7 separate regions of the Homo sapiens genome follow, and regions 1, 2, 3, 4, 6 and 7 are each linked to region 5. Evidence: promoter capture Hi-C in 16 types of primary human blood cells and fetal thymus (Javierre and others, 2016). All regions are on one chromosome and are shown on one strand. The core of a region is centred on a gene start or on the middle of the fragment in contact, and the rest is flanking DNA. Distances in the headings are between cores, read along the strand shown. Region 1 overlaps ATP8A2 (ATPase phospholipid transporting 8A2). Region 2 overlaps ATP8A2 (ATPase phospholipid transporting 8A2). Region 3 overlaps ATP8A2 (ATPase phospholipid transporting 8A2). Region 4 overlaps ATP8A2 (ATPase phospholipid transporting 8A2). Region 5 holds the start of SHISA2 (shisa family member 2). Region 6 overlaps ATP8A2 (ATPase phospholipid transporting 8A2). Region 7 overlaps ATP8A2 (ATPase phospholipid transporting 8A2).

The links. Contacts are between HindIII fragments. The CHiCAGO score rates a contact against its expected background, and 5 or more counts as called.
Region 1: a fragment that was not itself captured here is called in contact with the fragment with the promoter of SHISA2 in region 5 in 6 of 17 cell types (fetal thymus, activated CD4 T cells, naive CD8 T cells and 3 more); the score reaches 10.5 in fetal thymus.
Region 2: a fragment that was not itself captured here is called in contact with the fragment with the promoter of SHISA2 in region 5 in 9 of 17 cell types (fetal thymus, total CD4 T cells, activated CD4 T cells and 6 more); the score reaches 9.0 in fetal thymus.
Region 3: a contact is called between a fragment that was not itself captured here and the fragment with the promoter of SHISA2 in region 5, in 16 of 17 cell types (fetal thymus, activated CD4 T cells, megakaryocytes and 13 more). The highest score is 23.0, in fetal thymus.
Region 4: a contact is called between a fragment that was not itself captured here and the fragment with the promoter of SHISA2 in region 5, in 7 of 17 cell types (fetal thymus, activated CD4 T cells, non-activated CD4 T cells and 4 more). The highest score is 9.6, in fetal thymus.
Region 6: a contact is called between a fragment that was not itself captured here and the fragment with the promoter of SHISA2 in region 5, in 1 of 17 cell types (megakaryocytes). The highest score is 6.2, in megakaryocytes.
Region 7: a contact is called between a fragment that was not itself captured here and the fragment with the promoter of SHISA2 in region 5, in 5 of 17 cell types (naive CD4 T cells, fetal thymus, activated CD4 T cells and 2 more). The highest score is 7.5, in naive CD4 T cells.

What each region holds. Positions count from the first base shown.
Region 1 is chr13:25,648,792-25,651,643 of GRCh38, reverse strand. All of the region lies in intron 24 of ATP8A2 (ATPase phospholipid transporting 8A2), which reads right to left. Among named protein-coding and RNA genes, the nearest start is that of ATP8A2, 280 kb to the right of the region's middle. The HindIII fragment of the contact is 1,376 bases long and covers 629-2,004 here.
Region 2 is chr13:25,623,269-25,625,968 of GRCh38, reverse strand. All of the region lies in intron 24 of ATP8A2 (ATPase phospholipid transporting 8A2), which reads right to left. Among named protein-coding and RNA genes, the nearest start is that of ATP8A2, 250 kb to the right of the region's middle. The HindIII fragment of the contact is 1,364 bases long and covers 591-1,954 here.
Region 3 is chr13:25,589,860-25,592,784 of GRCh38, reverse strand. The region is part of intron 24 of ATP8A2 (ATPase phospholipid transporting 8A2); the gene reads right to left. Among named protein-coding and RNA genes, the nearest start is that of ATP8A2, 220 kb to the right of the region's middle. The HindIII fragment of the contact is 2,486 bases long and covers 411-2,896 here.
Region 4 is chr13:25,692,747-25,695,522 of GRCh38, reverse strand. All of the region lies in intron 24 of ATP8A2 (ATPase phospholipid transporting 8A2), which reads right to left. Among named protein-coding and RNA genes, the nearest start is that of ATP8A2, 320 kb to the right of the region's middle. The HindIII fragment of the contact is 4,592 bases long and covers 1-2,776 here.
Region 5 is chr13:26,050,766-26,053,465 of GRCh38, reverse strand. It overlaps SHISA2 (shisa family member 2), which reads left to right and starts at 1,450. Exons shown (of 2, transcript NM_001007538.2): 1 at 1,450-2,700. The coding sequence starts at 2,491. It overlaps LINC00415 (long intergenic non-protein coding RNA 415), which reads left to right. Exons shown (of 2, transcript NR_146971.1): 2 at 794-1,190. The HindIII fragment of the contact is 15,847 bases long and covers 1-2,700 here.
Region 6 is chr13:25,552,038-25,554,737 of GRCh38, reverse strand. It overlaps ATP8A2 (ATPase phospholipid transporting 8A2), which reads right to left. Exons shown (of 37, transcript NM_016529.6): 12 at 818-945. Among named protein-coding and RNA genes, the nearest start is that of ATP8A2, 180 kb to the right of the region's middle. The HindIII fragment of the contact is 6,965 bases long and covers 1-2,700 here.
Region 7 is chr13:25,606,467-25,609,166 of GRCh38, reverse strand. The region is part of intron 24 of ATP8A2 (ATPase phospholipid transporting 8A2); the gene reads right to left. Among named protein-coding and RNA genes, the nearest start is that of ATP8A2, 240 kb to the right of the region's middle. The HindIII fragment of the contact is 4,774 bases long and covers 1-2,700 here.

The sequences.
Region 1 (2,852 bases), core at 67-2,566, 400 kb after region 5:
AATTCTCTAATAAATAAAATCTGAAATATATAACTTGAATAAAACTGAGAGATGCTATAGTCATAAATAAAAAAGATGATAGGTGTGAACAACTTTAGGCCAATAAATTTGAAAATTTAATAAAATAAATCTGCAGAAAAAAAAGCTTACTATAACAGCCTGACTTCTAAGAAATGAGAATGTATGAATAATTTTTTTTTTTTTGAAACAGTCTCACTCTGCCGCCAGGCTGGAGTGCAGTGGCGTGATCTTGATTCACTGCAATCTCTGCCTCCCGAGTTCAAGTGATTCTCCTGCCTCAGCCTCCCGAGTAGCTGGGACTACAAGCATACGCCACCACGACCAGCTAATTTTTGTATTTTTAGTAGAGATGGGTTTTCACCATGTTGGCCAGGATGGTCTCGATCTCTTGACCTCATGATCCACCCATCTTGGCCTCCCAAAATGCTGGGATTACAGGTTTGAGCAACCACGCCTGGCCGAATAATCTTATAATAATTAAAGAAGTTGACTTAGTAGTTTAAATTTTCTCACAAAGAAAATTTCAAGTGAGTTCTATCAAGCATTCAAGGAAGAAATAATTTCAGCTTTACATAAACTAAGTCAAAGGAGATAAAGAGGGAAAGCTTCCCTAACTCATTATTATGGATAATGTAACTGTGGTACCATAATCCAATAAGGACAATGCAGAAAAATGAACACTATAGGCAAATTACATTCAAATATGGATATAAAATTTTAAACAAATACCTAAAACAAAATCAAATAATGTATTTTAAAAAGTAACACATCATGACCAAGTTGGCTATTTCTAGGAAAGCTAGATTGGTTTAACATTGGGAAATTATTGAATGTAGTTCACAAATCAAAAGATTAAAAAAGAAAAACCATAAGATCATGTCAATAAATACAGGAAAATTAGTTGATACACTCGAAACAATGTTCATAATAACCTGATAAACAGTACTTACAGAAAATCTACAATAAGCATCATCCTTAAATGTAAAACATTAGTAGAATTCAAATTGGAAAAAAAGCTGAAGTACCCTTAACGCTACTTCTGTTTGGCCCCAACACTACTTCTATTTTGCAGTGGAGGTTCTAGTAAGCTAGATAGGTCGAGAAAAAGAAATAGACCATAAAAACTGGAAGGGTATATCCAAACTGTTATTCAGAAGTGGTATTTTTGTTTACATTTAAAAATCCAGAATAATCTACATATTAGAATTAATAAGAGAGTTCAGAGTTCCTAGATCACAAAACTAATGTACAAAGAGAATTCAGACGACATCAGCAAGATGGTGGGATAGGAGGTCACAGGTTTCACTACCCCCCTACCCCACAAAAAGTTCAACTAGCAACTATCCACAGACAAGAACGCCTTGGTGAAAACTCCCCAAGTTAGGAATAAGTCAGAGTCACTTGTGTGGTCCACAGCATGGAATAAAAGCCGCATGGAAAGGGTGAGAGAAACTATCTCACTTTGACAACATTGCCCCACCCCATCCCTCAAGTTGGCCCAGGGCCTCACAGACGGGATTTCCCAAAAACCATGGTTTCTACAGAGGGAAAAGAGAACCCGAAAGCAAATATCCAGCTTCCCTAGCATTCCAAGATGCTTCTTAGGAAGTCCACTCTGGTCTCACCTCAAAGGGAACACAGCGGAATACAGCACAACTAGACCACCTGGGGTCAGGTGGAAACAAAGCAATGAGTGTACAGATCTTGGTGGTAGCTTTGTGTACCTGGCAGCAAAGGTACCTGATTAGAGGTACCAGCTAACAGTGTAGCTCACAGGCAAAGCTGAGCTGATCACTCCTGGAAGAGGTGGAAAGTGCTACCTGGCTTGAATTCCTAGACAGGCACAATCCAGGACCAGCCTTGGACTCTACCTGAGGGCCCTGCCCATGGAGGACAACAACCACCACAGGGAATTGCAGCAAAATGGAAAGCTAGTTGTGCCACACCTGGGAGTCTAACAACACCTGGTGTGACCTCAAAGCTTACCCCAAGACCCTACCCAGGCAGGGAGACAACCAATGCAGCAAACTTCATTGAAGAGCAGGGACAGCAGAGGGAAAGTTTACACAGCACTTAACCTCAACACTTAACTCACCCTAAGGCCCCACACAGGCAGGAAGGAAAACTTCAACCATGCATTTCTATTGTGCATAGCATCTGGTCTTGTCCATCTCAGTGTCTCCACTTAACTTTGAGGCCCCTCCCACAACCCTGGCCAACTGCAGAACTCAAATAGTGGTACCACTTGAGCAGAGAACACACCCTGGCCTGATCTGAGGCTACTGTAGTGCCCATCCAGCAGCTCAGCCTGATTGTGAAGCTCAGTCCAGCCAGCTGCCCCATGTGAATTCAAGGTAAAGGCAGCACCCCAGACATTTAGAGAACTCCAAAATAAGCTCTGCCTGCCCAAGGCTGTTACCAGCTAGCCCAACCAGAATTGCAGGTTAAACTACATAATAAGGGTCTGTTCCAAAGAATGCCTGTGAAAGCTGGAAAAGGTTGTTATCTCAAGTACACAAACACCAACGCAAGGACACAAGGATTACATGGACTCAGGAAGAAATCATGACATCTCCAAAAGAAACTGACAAAGCTCCAAAAATTGACCCTAATGAAAGGGAGATCAATAAAATGATGACAAAAAATTTAGAAAAATCCTCTTAAAGAAATTCCATGAACTGCAAGAATACAGTCATAATAGTCAGCCCGCCATATTCATGGGTTCCACATCTGTGGATTCAACCAACAGCAGATCAAGAATATTCAGAAAGAAACAATACAAAACCCACAACAATAAAAAATGATACAAACTTAAAAATACAATATAACAA
Region 2 (2,700 bases), core at 23-2,522, 430 kb after region 5:
TAAAAAAACAAACAAACAAACTTCAGAGCCAGTAGATGCAGTCTCAGCAATTCTACTTAGTTGTGTGACCTTTGACAGGTCACTTCTGAGCCTAACATATTCATCCGTAAAATGGGAACACAGCCATTCACATCATAGGCTGTTGTGAGGATTAAATAAAAATAATTGAGTTATACACCAATTATGCCTTTTGGTTCATAAGTAAATTTTTGAAATTTCTAGTTATTCAGAGATCAACACAAAACTTGCAGTAACAGTCATGTGATGCAAGAGAGCTCCACTTTTTTCAACATTCTGTGGAATGAAGTGTTAACAAAATCTTTCGTCTTGAGAAAAAGCAACAACCCTCAAGAGATCTGCAGTGGCAAACGCTGTAATGAGACACCCTCTGCCCCTGCCTCCCCAAAGACCTTCACTACTCACTGCTCAAACACATTGATGTTGGTTCCCACAAGAAGGTGTAATTTAATAATCTTTGAATTGCTGAGGCCTGTGTATTTTTAAACCTGAAGGCTCAATTAGCAGCTAGAGTTCAATCACTATAGTAGCACTTGTAATTTCAGACAATTACTTCACGTTGTGTGGAAGCTTTGGACATAAAGAGGCTGTATGTTTTAAGGCACATTTTGTCCTACTACATTTCTGCACCCTTTTCTAAATGCTTAATGCTTTCAAAAACTGCATTTGTTCTTCCTCAAAAAGGGATCTGACAAAATAAAAGGTTTTCTCTTATTAACATTTCTCCTGTCTCTTGATTACGGGGCTCAAACTTGAGTGTCACTCCTCATGAAGAGTATCTCCAATTCTCCACTTGTTGAGGCAAGAATAATCCTCAGATCCACAACTAATCTCTCATCCCTTCCAACACTAAATGCACATTTTCTTGTTGCCTATTCTTGCTTAAAGATCCCCCAAAATGTGACTAGATAAAATTGATCATGCACAATCCATTGTTGCTATTAGGTTTTCCTAACACCATTAAGGAAAAATAAGACCATTTTATATCTTTAGAGATAATTCCTATGTAAAAAACTTTTAGATTTCAGCTGATTCAAATATATCAGAAGCAACACACATCTGCAGATGGAAGGAATTTCTTTTAAAATGATAATCTTGTTAAACTTACAGGAGTTGAAATAGAAATGAAAAACTTAAGAGGATTGGTCATAGGAAAATTGTACTAATCAATTTACTTGGTTGAACTATTTTTCTGAAAGCAGCTCAGAGACAAGACCACCCCTGTGCAAGTGTAACTCACACAACTTGTACTTACCCAATTAATAGCAAATCACTAACTTGATTAACACATAATTACATACATACCTCAATTGCCTTTAGAACATATAATTTGAGGAAATACTGTAATTTGTGCTTGGGAAATACATTGTTCACCTACATACAATACTCTCTAATAGAGGCACCATTGAAAATATTCAGAAAACTAGTTAACATTAAGTATCTTGTTAAGGTTAACTGGGCCACCTAACAACTTAGCAAAATATAAATTACATTGAAGTGAAATAAAAAAGGTAGAGTACTTGCCTAGAGTTATAAAAATCAGACAGTGAAGGTTATAACTCAATCAAGCTGAGGCCATTTCTGTAATTTCATTTGTCTCCTTTTCCTCTTCTGTATTTATAAACCACAAGTCCTTAGGTGATGAAGGAATCCTGGCCCCTTGATTTAACCCACCATCTCTGCCAAAGTCATAAATGCCATATATCAGTAGCTTGTAAGACCAGCAAGGAAAGAAATGCCCACAGTCCTTGTCCTGAGGGTTATGTCAACTAGTTAAGTGTAAACGAAAACAAATAAAGCAAGACAGTTTTCTATTAAGAAATACCCTTCTTGGAGAGTCCAATTCAGTAAGCCGTTTAAGCACCACCAATGTGCAAAATATTTTAAAGATGAATACACCAGTTTCTACCATGAAGTCTTAACTAACAAACAAGCTTACAGCCCAGGAAGGGGAAGGATGGCACTCCATTCTCACACACACACACACAATATAGATATATGTATATTTATATTTATGCATGTATATATATGCACACACATACATACATGCATTATAGATATATGCATATATAGGTATATGCATATATCTATGCATAATTTATGCATTTATAATCTATGCATAATTTATGCATTTATGCTCATCTAGATATGCATATATATCTCTATATGCATGTGTATATATACACGTATACACACACACACATATTTCTATAACACAAGAGAAGTCCGTGCAGTTTTACTTCCATCAGGATAAAATTCTCCCATGTCCAAAAGTCCATGAAGGTGATAAATCCAGAGCAAAGGCAGAGATATTGGTCATAAGGATAGAATTAGAAAATGAGACTGATAAATTAGAAAAACTACTATGTTTCAAAACACGTATTTGGTGATTTGGTGAATTTACAAGATTTTTCTATTTACCTTTCAAATCTTTTCTTCTTAATAAAAAACACACAAAAAAAGGTGGAAAACCTTTTATCACTTCTGAGCTGACACTGAGAAGAACTTTTGAAAAAAAAAAATCATAGTCCTGGCTTTTTGTTGTTGCTATTGTGGAGACTAAGTCTCACTCTGTTGCCCAGGCTGGAATGCAGTGGCATGACCATAGCTCACTACAACCTCAAACTCCTGGGCTCAAGTGATCCTTCCACCTCAGTCTCCCAAGTAGCTGGCACTACAGGC
Region 3 (2,925 bases), core at 404-2,903, 460 kb after region 5:
AGAAGTCTCAATGTGTATGTAGAGTTAAAGTTCATCTCTTGGACTCCAGAAAACATCTGATATAAGGGGAAAACAGAGGCTCATTTCTGAGTTACCTCCAGAAAAAGGAGGCTTTTTTCAAGGTTAGAGATACCTTTGAACCAGAAAATCATCAGAAAAAAAGGAAGCCTCAAGTACAGACACTGTGGGTGTGTTCATAAGGTATGTGCACACATCCAAGGGTTCTAGGAGCCTTTCTGCAGGAGCACTCTGCTCTCCTGTCCACCGATGCGGTGTTTTGGCTTACTCATTTTCTACTTCTTAGTAACATCAACTTGTACTCAGCCCCTCATGGCTACTGTAGCCACTATCTCATCAGCATGACTTTTAAATAGAAATTCTTATTGATGACTAGAAAATTATCTTAAGCTTGTTCATTCATTCAAACATTTACTGAGTGCATAATATGTGCAAAGCAAGGTCTTGAAGGTGGAGATGCCCAGTTTTTTTAAACAGGTTTTTAACCATGGACCTTACAGTCTAAGGGACTAAAGGGAGGTAGAAAAAATACAAATTATGTCATAACACTGAAAAAAAACCTGATTAAAAAATGGGCAAAGGATTGAATAGACATTTCTCCATAGAAGATATACAAATGACCAAAAGGCACATGTAAAGATGTCCATTGTCACTAATAATTAGGGAAATACAAATCAAAACTCCAATGAGATACCACTCTCAAACCCATTAGAGTGGCTACTATTAAAAAAAAAAAAACCAGTGTTGGCAAGAATATGGAAAAATCACAAACCATATAAAACGATGCAGCTGCTGTAAAAAAACAGTATGGCTGTTCCTCAAAAAGTGAAATGTAAAATTACCATATGATTCAGCAACTCCACTTCTGGGTATATGTCCCCAAAAATTAGAAGCAGGATCTCAAAAAGATATTTGTATATCCACATTTATAGCAGCACTATTCACAATAGTCAAAAGTTGGATTGAGACCATCCTGGCCAACATGGTGAAACTCCATCTCTACTAAAAATACAAAAATTAGCCAGGCATGGTGGCGCATGCCTGTAATCCCAGCTACTCAGGAGGCTGAGGCAGGTGAATCACTTGAACCAAGGAATTGGAGGTTGCGGTGAGCCTCGTTTGGCACAGCACTCCAACCTGGCAAGAGAGTGAGACTTCGTCTCAAAAAAAAAAAAAAAAAAAAGTTATAAGCTACTCAACTGTCCACTGATGGATTAATGAATCAACAAAATGTAGTATAGGCATGCAATGGAATATTAATCAGCCTTAAAAAGGAGCGAAATTCTGACACATGGTCCGATATGGATGAACCTTGAAGACATTATGTTACATGAAATGAGCTAGTCATAAAAATCACAAATACTATATGATTGAACTTACACGAGGTACTTACAGCTGTGAAATTCATAGAGACACAAAGCAGAATGACTGCCAGGGGATGAGGTAGGTGTGGGAATGGAGAGTAGTTGTTCAAAGGGGCACAGAATTTTGGTTTGGGAAGATGAAAAGAGTTCTGTGGATGGATAGTGGTGATGGTTACACAACAATATGAATATACTTAATGCCACTGAACTGTACACTTAAATGATGTATTTCACAACAATTTACACACACACACACACACACACACACATAGTATTTCCAATGATGAGAGGTTCCATGGAGAAAAATAAAGACGTGTGAGAGGGGGAAGACTGAAACACTTGGGTAGAGGAGAGATTTCCTCAGAGCATGTGAGAATTAGACTCCAGGAGATGAGGTATGACCTGGGACTCTGGGCTGCCTGCAGGCAGTAACATGAACAAGGATAGGAGGTGTACCGAGATGAATTCTGAAGCACTCACGCCAGAGGGTGGTCTCTTGCCAGTGGTGCCTTGGAAACATACAGAACTACGGACTCTCCCCCTGCCTCCTGCCCTTGGTCTCATGAAGGGGTAGAGAGTATCCTGGTGTTCACGATAGGAGTTATGGCCCTCTCAATTTGCAAGTATAGAAAGCTCTGTACTTTATTGCCTCCCTTTAAAAGAGTAATTAACCGTGCCATCTGCCCCTGGCATTGGCTAAATATAAATATTAAATATACTGCCTGAAAGGGTGCTATGGGTGCCTGCCAGTAACAAAGCCCTTGTTAAAAGTTCTGACAAGTGGAATCTCATTGTTCAGCTCATATTTTCATATCAAACCACTTCACAGGTTGCTGGTGACCCTCAAATCAGCTCCCACTGCTGGTCTGTTCAGTGGCTTTATGCCATGATGGGGTGGGTTCATGCGGCAGCATTGGGACATCAGAGAATTAAGTATACATGTATCCTATTACTATACGAATGTATTATTATTATTTCAAGACAGAGTCTCACTCTGTCACCCAGCTTGGAAAGCAGTGGCACGATCACGGCTCACTGTAGCATCCACATCCCAGGCTCAATCAATTCTCCAGCCTCAGCCTCCCAAGCAGCTGGGACTACAGGCATATGCCACCACGGCTGGCCAATTTTTCCATTTTTTGTAGAGATGAGGTCCTGCTGTGTTGCTTAGGCTGGTCTGGAACTCCTTGGTTAAAGCGATCCTTCTGCCTCCGCCTCCCAAAATGCTGGGATTACAGGCATGAGCCACTGCACCTGGCCTCACTATATAAATTTAAACAATGCTTAACACTTGAATATTAGTTTTATTCTAAAGTTTGTGCTAGAAAGAAAATCATACATGTCTCCTTAGTAACTTATAGTGAAATTAACCATCACCATTTAATGTAGGTCATAATAGGTTCCACTAATATTTCATACTTAATGATTAAAGCTAAATCAGATTAAAACTATCCCATTTTAAATGCACAATTCTAGATGAATAAAAGTATTATCATGAGGCAATATTCTAAGCTTACTGTTTTGATGTTTAAAGATAAGGCTT
Region 4 (2,776 bases), core at 192-2,691, 360 kb after region 5:
CCAATTTTGAAGGAAGTTCTACTGTGGGTAAATGCTATCAAACGGCATCACATGCCATGGATAAATCTTTTGTGAAAAGTAGAGTCAACAGATGCAGCAAACTTTATTGTTGTCTTATTTTGAGAAATTGCCAAAACCACCCCAACCTTCAGCAACCACCACCTTGATCAGCCAGCAGCCATGAATGTCATGGCAAGACCCTCCACCAACAAAAAGATTATGACTTGCTGAAGGCTTAGGCGATTGTTAGCGTATTTTAGTAAAAAGTATTTTTAAATTAAGGCACACACATTGGGTTTTTTAAAGATGTGATGCTGTTGCACACTTAATAGAGTACAGTACCGTGTAAACATAACTTTTATATGCACTGGAAAACCAAAAAAAAAAAAAGATAGTGTGACTTGCTTTATTACAGTATTTGCTTTATTGCTATGGACTGGTCCCAAATCTGCAATATCTCTGAGGTATGCCTGCAATAGACGAAACATTAATAGAATAATGTTCTATGCATAAAAGTTAAATGGACTTTTATTAAAAACAAAGAAGCCAGTCATGGTGGCTCATGCCTGTAATCCCAGCACTTTTGCCAAAGAGGGAGGATCACCTGAGGCCAGGAGTTCAAGACCAGCCTAAACAACAGAGTGAGACTCTGTCCCTAGAAAAAAAGGGACATATAGGCACATAATTGGCCAGGCATGATGGTGCATGCCTGTAGTCCCAGCTACTCAGAAGGGTGAGGTGCAAAGATCGCTTGAACCCAGGAATTGGAGGCTTTAGTGAGCTATAATCATGCCACTGCAGTCCAGCAACAGCCTGTCTCTAAAATAAATAAACTTTATACTTTTTATTGTCAATTAGCTTTGTAATTCTGAATCTCAAACAAGCATCCTGAAAACATCTATGCCTTCCTTATCTAAAACAACAGCCTGCCCTTTAGAATTTGGGTAGAGAGAAAAAAATTACCCTGACCTGGGGAAATGCCAGCTTGGCAGCCTGGGTGTGTTCACCAGGAAATTCAGGTAAGTCTGGGAAATTCTAGAGGGGTGCCTGCCGGGGGTCAGTGTATGAAGGACAGAAAAACCTCTTGAGAAGCACGTCACCAAAGAGATGAGACAAGGTACACAGATTTGGCCCAGGGAGAGCATCCAGGTGCTACAGTAGAGGCCCAGTCTAGCTCAGTGCCAAGTCCCATGGGCCTCCCCACTGGACTTATGCGTGGATCCAAGGAGGGAAAGAGTGAGGAATAAAAATCTCTGAAATGTGGAGCCCATTGCCTGTGGCTTTTTGTAAGAGGGCACAGCATAAATGGAGACATAGGTGCTCATCTTAGGAAGGCAGCTTTCTCCAGTTAGGGTTATTTCTGCAGCACACATGAGGATAGACTGGATGCCAATACATGGTTCTTCTTCCTTGGCAGGAGGAGGAGAGGGACTAGCTTGGCCAATGTGGTAAAACCCAGTCTCTACTAAAAATACAAAAAATACAAAAAAATTAGATGTGCGTGGTGGTGCACGCCTGTAATCCCAGCCACTTGGGAGGCTGAGGCAGGAGAATTACTTGAACCCAGGAGGTAGAGGTTGCAGTGAGTCAAGATCGTGCCACTGCATTCCAAATGGGCAACAGAGCAAGACTCCATCTCCAGACAACAACAACAAAAACCCAAAAATTAGAAAAGTGTGGTGGCACACCCTTGTATTTCCAACTACTTGGGAGGCTGAGGTGGGAGAATCACTTGAACCTGGGAGGCAGAGGTTGCAGTGAGCCAAGATCGTGCCACTGCACTCCAACCTGGGTGACAGACAAAATAAATAAATAAAATAAAAATAAATAAAACAGAGAGAGAGAGAGAGACAGAGAGATCTGAGGGATGTCTCTCTCTGACCTCTTGGTGGGCTATTCAGCCTTACTGGTACACTTTGAGTTACATTTTGCTTGAAAATGGCTGGTTCTCAATCTCAATCCTGCTTACTCTTCCATTCTCTTCTCCCTGCCCTTCATCTGCTCAGATACACTCCTTTGCCTCTGGGATTGAAATCCTCTTCCTACCACTAAGAGCCCTCCAGGTCCATCCTTCTAACGCCACCCTTGACGTGTCTCCAGCCTCTACTTTGAGTTTAATTCCTGCACTTTCCATGCCCACTCGGCAATAATCTTTGATCAAACCCAGACGAGCTGGGTTCACCACACACATGTGGTGGAACATAGGTCCCTTCTGTGCAGTTCTCAAGCGAGCCAATTGAAGGTATTACTATCACAAACAGTTCCTTATTCTCAAATGGACTATGATTCAAGAGTCTATTTGTAAGGTAGTTATTGGGCACTTAGAATCCATTTTCCCAGAGGAACGATGTTACAAATTATGGTTGGATCCCAGGGCCAGTTAATGCCTATTTAGTCCAGTTGCTAAAATTTATACTACAGTCTCTTATTTTAATAAAAAGCCAATTACTGAAAGTTACAATGGACTTAGCTGTTATAAGGGGCATAAAAAGTCAGGGCTGGAGGTTTCATACCCAGAAAGATAAAAAATATTCCAAAATCTTTAATTAGTATTTTGCTTTTAGGTGTTAACATTAAACTGTATATTTCTAGCTTTTGGTGCATGTTCTACAATTGTATTTTCCTTCACAATTAAACAAACGCATAATTTAATGTCGAAAGTGAGTGACTGCTACTGACGACTGTCCCCTACCTTTTTCCCCAGTTTTGTTCTCCTGTGAACTTCACATTTCTTAGCAAGGTCAGCATGGCCTTTGCATTCCCAGTTTATAAATTA
Region 5 (2,700 bases), core at 201-2,700:
GTCTTTTTGTCTGATTTCTGTATTTTACCCTGGAGACTTTAGGCCCTATTTGAAGGAAATGGCCATGCTGTCTGGCTTCTTGATGAGTCCCAGTACCCAGCACAGAGCACAGTACACTGTAAGTGCATGGCGTGTATTTCTTGAATGAATGATTTCTTGACATTGAAATTTTTTTTAGCTTACTAGCTTAAGACATTTGGTGAATAGTGCATTTAAAGTATATAATTTTGTGTAGCTTAAAACGATACACAACCAAAAAACTGCAAGAAAACAAAGTGCAATGCTTGGAGAGAGGTTTAGTGAAAAGAATAAGGTGTGTGTTGGGGAGCAGGGACATAGGGTAGGGTTTTTTTTCTTGGATTTGACATTGTTGGGGCAAGTGGAAGAATAATCAACAATGTCTGAATCTTCACATTAACCAGGCATACACAAGCATCCAATGGCTGCTTGAACCTGAGTGTCTTTGCTGTGAATAAAACTGCCTGTGTTCTGAAGTCATGGACTTGAAAGGGACCTTAGTGATCGTCACATCCTATGCTCCACTTTATAGATGAAGAAACTGAGACCAGAAAAACGCAGTGATTCCCTGCTAGTAGGGCTGGGTCTAGAATTCAGGTCTGCTGACTCCCAGACGGTGTGGGAAGGGGCATTCGTTCCTTTAAAAATAAGCACTGCTGCTTTAATAACATCAGCACCTGTTGTTCCAGCTTCTGCAAGAGAGAAGCTATTAATTTCTCCTTCATCAAAGCTGAATTTCTGGTCTGTCTGAACCTTGTTTTCTTCCTGACTGCAGCTGTCTAAACCACTAAGGCCACATGTTGGACGGAGGCACTTTCCTGCTGGAATCCGATAAATCACCACACCCAAATATAGAAAGAAAAAGGGACACAGATCATCCACACCGTGGCCGAATGTGTGACATCTTTGCTGAACTCTCTCCGTTCCACCTTGTGGTGGAGGCCTCCAGTCCACCAAACACAGCCCTAGGCGTGTGAACCCTGCCACAAACATCGGTGCTCTTCCTGCACAGGGCCTGGGACCAACCGTGGCCAGGACATCAGCTGCTGGAAGCCGAGAGAGTTCATCTGAGTGGCGATTTTATGATCTGCAGAGTGGAAAGTAATCATAATCCCTTGAGAAGTTTGCAGAATCGAACCGAATGTTGAATGCCAAAGATCTTCACAAAGCAAGTTGAGTTTCTTCCGTTATTATTGTTATTTGTGTTAGCGAGGCCTGGATTGCTTAGGTTGGGTTTCCTCCCGCGCCTATTCCAGCAGGCAGACCCCGCCCTTGGCCACACCTTTCTCCTTGCCCGGGGTAGGAAAGTGAGGGGCTGCCCGGCGCCCGCGGGCGTCCCTGAGGTCGGGGGTGGGGGGGAGCCGCGCAGCGCGCATGCGCGCCGGGGAGCCGCCGGCCTCTATAAGAGCGCGGCTCAGCGCGGCAGCGAGCGGAGTCGGAGCTGGTCTGGCGCCGGGCGGGGCGAGGCGAGGCTGTGGGCGGCTGCTGCGCTCGGCTTCTCCCGTAGCCCGGAGGAAAGAAACTTCCGTGGGAGGCTTCCATCGGTGCGCACACCTCCCGAGGGCGAGGCAGCGACCGGGAGAGGGAGAGCCGGCCGGAGGCTGCCGGGCTCCTGTGGGACCGCGCTGCAGCCGGGGAGGCGGAGAAGGGGAACCGGGGCGAGCCGCCCGCCTGGATCCGCGCCCAGCAGCAGCCGCGGCCGCCGCCAGCTGGGCAGGCTCCCGGGACTGCGGCTGGGGGCGCGCAGGACCCTCGCCTGCGTCCTGGACGTTCCCGGGGTCAGGAGCGCTCCCTCGGCGACGTGCTGGGAAGATTGGCCGTCGGCCCCGCCGAGTGGAGCGTCGGGGCTGCACCCCCGTGGGCTGCCCGGGCGGCCCGGCCGGAGCCATGCGGACCAAGTTCGGGGCAGAGGAGGCTGAGCGCGGCCGGCTGCGTCACTTGCTGCCCAGAGCCTTGCGTGCACTGCCCGCCTTCGCCCCTTCTACCCGCCCGAGGAGGGAATAAAGGAGGGGAGACGGGCCCTGATTCGCGCGCGGGACCCTGAGGCTTAAACCCTGCGCAGAGCCCTGGCTCCAGGTCCGCGGCGGCGCGCCCAGCGGTCATTCGGCTCGAGTGAGCATCCCTTCGGGGATGCTCAGGGAGGGTCCGGTTGCCAGTGAAACCTCCAGAGGCTTCCGGACGACAGCCCCGGGGGCCTTCTGACTGCATCCCGAGATTTCCATCAGCGAGTGCAACTCATAAGGCAGTCCCTAAGGGGACCGGGCCACCGGCTGAGGACGGGGATGGCTTAGGAGCTCCTGGACCTAGGGCCCGGCGTCGTCGCCTCCTGGGCGTCGCGGCAGAGGGGAGTGGCCCGCGCGGAAAGCGCCGCGGGACAGTCAGTGACGAGGCCCGGGGGTCGCCGGGGCCACGACTTCTCGGAGACCGTCCTGCGCTCTCTGGAGACGCGCTGTCCGCGCCCAGGGTGGTGCCATGTGGGGCGCTCGCCGCTCGTCCGTCTCCTCATCCTGGAACGCCGCTTCGCTCCTGCAGCTGCTGCTGGCTGCGCTGCTGGCGGCGGGGGCGAGGGCCAGCGGCGAGTACTGCCACGGCTGGCTGGACGCGCAGGGCGTCTGGCGCATCGGCTTCCAGTGTCCCGAGCGCTTCGACGGCGGCGACGCCACCATCTGCTGCGGCAGCTGC
Region 6 (2,700 bases), core at 124-2,623, 500 kb after region 5:
AAATACAAAAATTAGCCAGGCATGGTGGTGCATGTCTGTAATCCCAGCTACTCAGGGAGGCTGACGCATGAGAATCGCTTGAACCCAAGAGATGGAAGTTGCAGTGAGCTAAGATCACACCACTTTACTCCAGCCTGGGTGACAGCACAAGACTTCATCTAAAAAAGAAATACACACACACACACACACACACACACACACACACACATACACACACACACACACATGATTTATATTTATATAGATATGATTTGATTTCAAAATAATCATTTCACAACCTAGACTAACTCATGATTCTCACCTTGCTGACGGGATTGCTGTGAAGATCAAATAAAAATGCACATCAAAGTGCCTGGTCTACAAATACTGGCTGCTAAAGTCCACTACTTAAGAGCCATGGCAGTCCTTTAAATATCTTATCTCCACCCTTACAATCAAATCCAAGTTGACTATCACAATGAATTTTGATATGCGAGTGACCACTATAGTAAACACACCCAAGAGGCCTTTTCTTCAGCCTTAATTAGATGTTAAAAGCGTGAATAGCAGGTGCAGCCAGATGACAGGCACTGGCTCAGCATTCCACCCCATTCTCTGACCAATCCTCACAACAACGCCTTGAATAGGTACCACTGCCCTTCCATTCCCCAAAAACACCCTCACTGGTGATCCCTGGCCAGTTCTTTGTATGGCCAGTTTAAGCCCCTGGACCTAATGGTAAATGAATATAGTTCTTCTTTTTTGAGTGCTCAATTAAATGCCAAAGGCTCTGAAATAGCATTGGAAAATAGTGATTCAACTCTGCTTTAATACTCACCCAGTTTATGAAAAGGGCTTGAGTATACTTCACAACCTCAAGAGTCACCAACAGACTGATGGGAATAAGATTGTTGTATAAGATGATGAACGTCAGTAGGTTGTATCCAAAATTATCTGAGGTGGTGTCTGTGGAAGGAAACCAGAGTATCTGAAAGGTGTTCACAACCAAAGTCTATTGGCTCATTTAGAGATTCATGTTAAAATAGTTATTGAGCACCTCCTGCATGTCAGGAACCGTGAGTTCAAAGGCTGCTTTCTGTAGGAGGCACACAGGCCCCACAATGCGACTGCACAGCAGGATGCATCCGCTAAAGAGAGGCTCACAGGACGTAGCGGGAACCAACACAGAAGGCTTTCTAATGGGAAGGCATGGTCACTGAAGGCCATCCAGAAGAAGAAATGCTGCTTTCAAGTTTTGAAGAACAGAGAAAAGAAGCAAACTTGAAAGAATGTAGAAAAGAAGACAGGCCTTTGAAATGGTTGTAAGGAACACCTACAAGCTCACTAAGGTACGTGTATATTGGGGATACTCCAAAGAGCTGGAAAGATGGACAAAAGTGTGAACAAGAGAAGCAGACAAAGAGAGAGAAGGCTTGAGCCCAGCTAAAGATAAGAGAAGGGATATCTGGACGGAACAAGTTCCCTAAGGATGGAACAGGACCCTAGGGGATGGAGTCCACAGCAGAGGCAGCATCAGCTCCAGGAGGAACAGAGAATGGGGGAGGGAGAGGGGGACAAGGTCTGGGGGTATCAAAGGGAAAGTTCTTTCCTTGACAGCCATGATCTTCTGCTTGAAGGGTAAAGTAGTGAGATCTTCTTAACTTAGCAAGAGGCTTAAGGAGAAGGTTGCAACAGCGTTTAACTGATATTAAAGCTGTGAAGGGAACTAGAATGAGAATAAAGATAGCAGAAGGCTGGGATTGGAGGGAGACTGATAATTTGTAATGGCTCCAAACCATAGTTACTAGGTTTTTTCCCAGGAAATTACATCAAATGGTGGTAGTCTGATTCCAATTTAGAGTTTTGAAGCGTGGCTGTGATGGAAAGACAAGGAGCTGGGAAGGTACAGGGGGAGCAGGCATATGCTGGCCAGTAATTTTACCTTTCCACAATCCCTTCACTTCCTACTCACTACCAACCCTTCCACTTTTCCTGCTGGTTGCTTTTCTTCCTGACATATTACTTTGCTCTCTTGTTCTCCTGTAGAATTAAGGAGTTTCTAAATAGGATCTCTAAGTTCCAATAGTTACAAATATCTGTAAGGTATAAACAAATATCTACCTGACAATTACAAATACAAGAAATACTAAAGAAGTTCTCCAGGATGAAAGAAATACCAGACAGTAATTAAAATCCACAAAAACAAAGGACACTAGTAATGATAATTCTACAGGATTTATAAAAGATAGTATAATTATATATTCCCAATTTTAAAAAAGCAATTGCTAAAAGCATCATAAAATTGCATTGTTGAACTTATATACAGATGTAATATATATGACAGTGCAAAGGAGTGAGGAGAGAATGAAGATACATGAAGCAAAGAAATGACACCAGCTGTTAAATCCAAAGGAAGAAATGAAGAGCGAGACCTGGAAATGGTAAGTAAATATGTTAATATAAAACAACCCTGGCCAGGCGTGGTGACTCACACCTGTAATCCCAGCACTTCAGGAGGCCGAGGCGGGTAGATTGCCTGAGGTCAGGAGTTCGAGGCTAGCCTGTCCAACATGGTGAAATCCCGTCTCTACTAAATATACAAAAATTAGCCAGGCATGTTAGCACATACCTGTAGTCCCAGCTACTCAGGAGGCTGAGGCAGGAGAATTGCTTGAACCCAGGAGGTGGAGGGTGCAGTGAGCCGAGATCACACCACTGCAC
Region 7 (2,700 bases), core at 201-2,700, 440 kb after region 5:
AAGAATCTTACTATTGGTTTTGTTGATCTTCTCTTGCTCTTTTATTAACATTTTAAATTGTATGTATAGCTTGTTCATTTTAAGTCTTTTTTATTTTGTAATCTAATCGGTAAGGCTACAAAAATTTCCCTCTTTGGGATATTCATATCCCATGAATTTGATGCAAAAGTATTTTTTAATCATTCAATTCTAAGTATTTTCTAATTTCCAATGTGATTTCCTCTTTGACACTGGATTTGTAAGTATAGGTTTTTAATTTTCCAAGAATATAAGATTTGTATGATGACCTTTTTGAAGGTCTTGGGCAAGGGCATAGCACTCACAGAACATGAGCTGCATGAAAATCAGTTCTCCAAAATTCTGTTAACACTTTATGATTTGTATGGTCATTTTTGAAAAGTGCTTGAGAAGTATGCAAATGCAGATAGATATAGATGTATGTATGGCATAATCACACTGACATATTTGTCTGTGTGATGTGTGTTTATGTGTCATCTGCAGCTGCTTTCTAATTACAACAGGAGAATTGAATAGGTGACACCTACAGCATATGGCACACAAAGCCTAAAATATTTACTATCTAGTCCTTTACAGAAAAAGTTTGCAAGATTTTTCCTAACCATATATACTTAGCACCTTAGACGTTTCCTTTGTGGCAACTGTCACAAACAGAACTTAAATGTATAGCTGAGATTTAATGATGACTGCTCAAATTTATAACAGCACAAACAGAAACTTGAGAGTAGAGAACATACTGTCATGTAATCCTATGTCTACAACCTGGGCAAACTGCCAGACCTATTAAAAGTACTCAAATATCTGTTGCTTTAATGAAACCCAGAAATTAAATATGCACGCTATGGTTTGGATATGCTTTGTCACCCCAAATCTCATGTGGAGATTTGCTCCCCATTGTGGGGTTCAGGCCCTCTTGGCATACCTGTTCCCTCTTTGACCTTATCTACAGGTTTTTACACAGCACAAAAGCCTTCACCAAAAGCCAAGTTGATGCTGGTGCCATGCTTCTTGTATAGTCCCAGAACCATAAGCCAAATAAGCCTCTTTGGCTTATAAATTACCCAAGCACAGGTATTCCCTTTATAGCAACACAAAATAGACTAATTCAATCCGTTTCTCCTTTGTCCTACTCTGAGGATTCTCTTTCACATGCTTCTTATTTTACTATCATCTATTAAGAGGAAAACTCACTATTTTTAAAAAGCAGCATTTCTAAGTCTGTGTCCCTTATAACAAGAGTTACCAAAAAAGAAAATCACTGGTCAAATAAATTTGGTTAACAAAATATTCTATATAATAAACCTCTGCATGATTTATAGTGAAATAAGGGGATTAAAGATTGTGTAAAAAGTGTAGTAGATGAATCTACTTCATTATTTACAACTCTGCATCTTCTCAAATTAGCCATAGATCCAATTCTCCCAAAAATGCTTGTTAACATTTTTAAAAACACTGTTTCAGAAATATAGCTACAGCTGGCAATGGAACTGGAATTGAGTCAGTTTCCATCTGATTACACAGGGCAGGGGGTCACTAAACTTTTGGTAAAGAACCAGATAGTAAATATGTTACAATTTGTGGGCCATGCGGTTTGTGTTGCAACTACAGATGGTCACTGACTTTGATGGTTTAACTTACGATTTTTTGACTTAACAATCGGTTTATCAGAGTACTAAACGTTATTTTCAACTTATAACTTACAATGGGTTTATCCAGAAGTAAACCCAATATGAGTCGAGGGGCATCTGTACTCAACTCTGCCTTTGTAGCATTGAAGTGATCATTGACAGTACATCAGTGTGCATGGCTGTGTTTCAATAAAACTTTATTTATAAAAACAAGTGGTGAGCTGGATTTGTCGCACTCGCCAGAGCTGGCCAGCCCTTGTCCTAGGGCAGCAGTCCCCAACTGTTTTGGCACCAGGGACCCGTTTTGTGGAAGATAATTTTAACACAGGTTGTGGGGGATGGTTTCAAGATGAAACTGTTCCACCTCAGATCATCGGGCATTAGTTAAATTTTCATAAGGAGCATGTAACCTAGATCCCTCACATGCCCAGTTTACAATAGGGTTCCCATTCCTGTGAGAATCTAATGCCACTGCTGATCTGACAGGAGGTGGAGCTCACGTGGTAAATGGGAGCTCGCCTGCCACTCACCTCCTGCTGTGTGGCCCAGTTCCTAACAGGCCATGGACCAGTACTGTTTCGTGCCCTGGGGGTCGGGGACCCTTGAAAATTATCTACACTCTGCTGCCTTGTACAGTAGCCACTAGTCACATGTGGCTATTAAAATTTAAATTACTTAAAATTGATAGTTCCTCAACCAAACTAGTTATGTTTCAAGTGATTAATAACCACATGTGACTAGCAACTATTACAATGGATAGCACAGAAAAACATTTTCACTTCTCATTAACCCTCTATAGAAAATGTGTGGGTGGATGGGTGTCTGGGGGTGTTTAAGTATACCAATCATTTTGTTTCACACTATTTTTACATTTAATTTCCTGGTAATAAGGGGCAAAAGTACCTGAATAACGAAATGAATATGCTCAGTTGGACAAAAATACTTTCCAGTAGGCTTATAATTTAAATTTAAGTAGAAGAACTAGACCATTCAGCTGGATGAAGGAGACTGGCAATTTAATAAGTCAAGAACTTCCCTATTGAAAGCAGAGTAG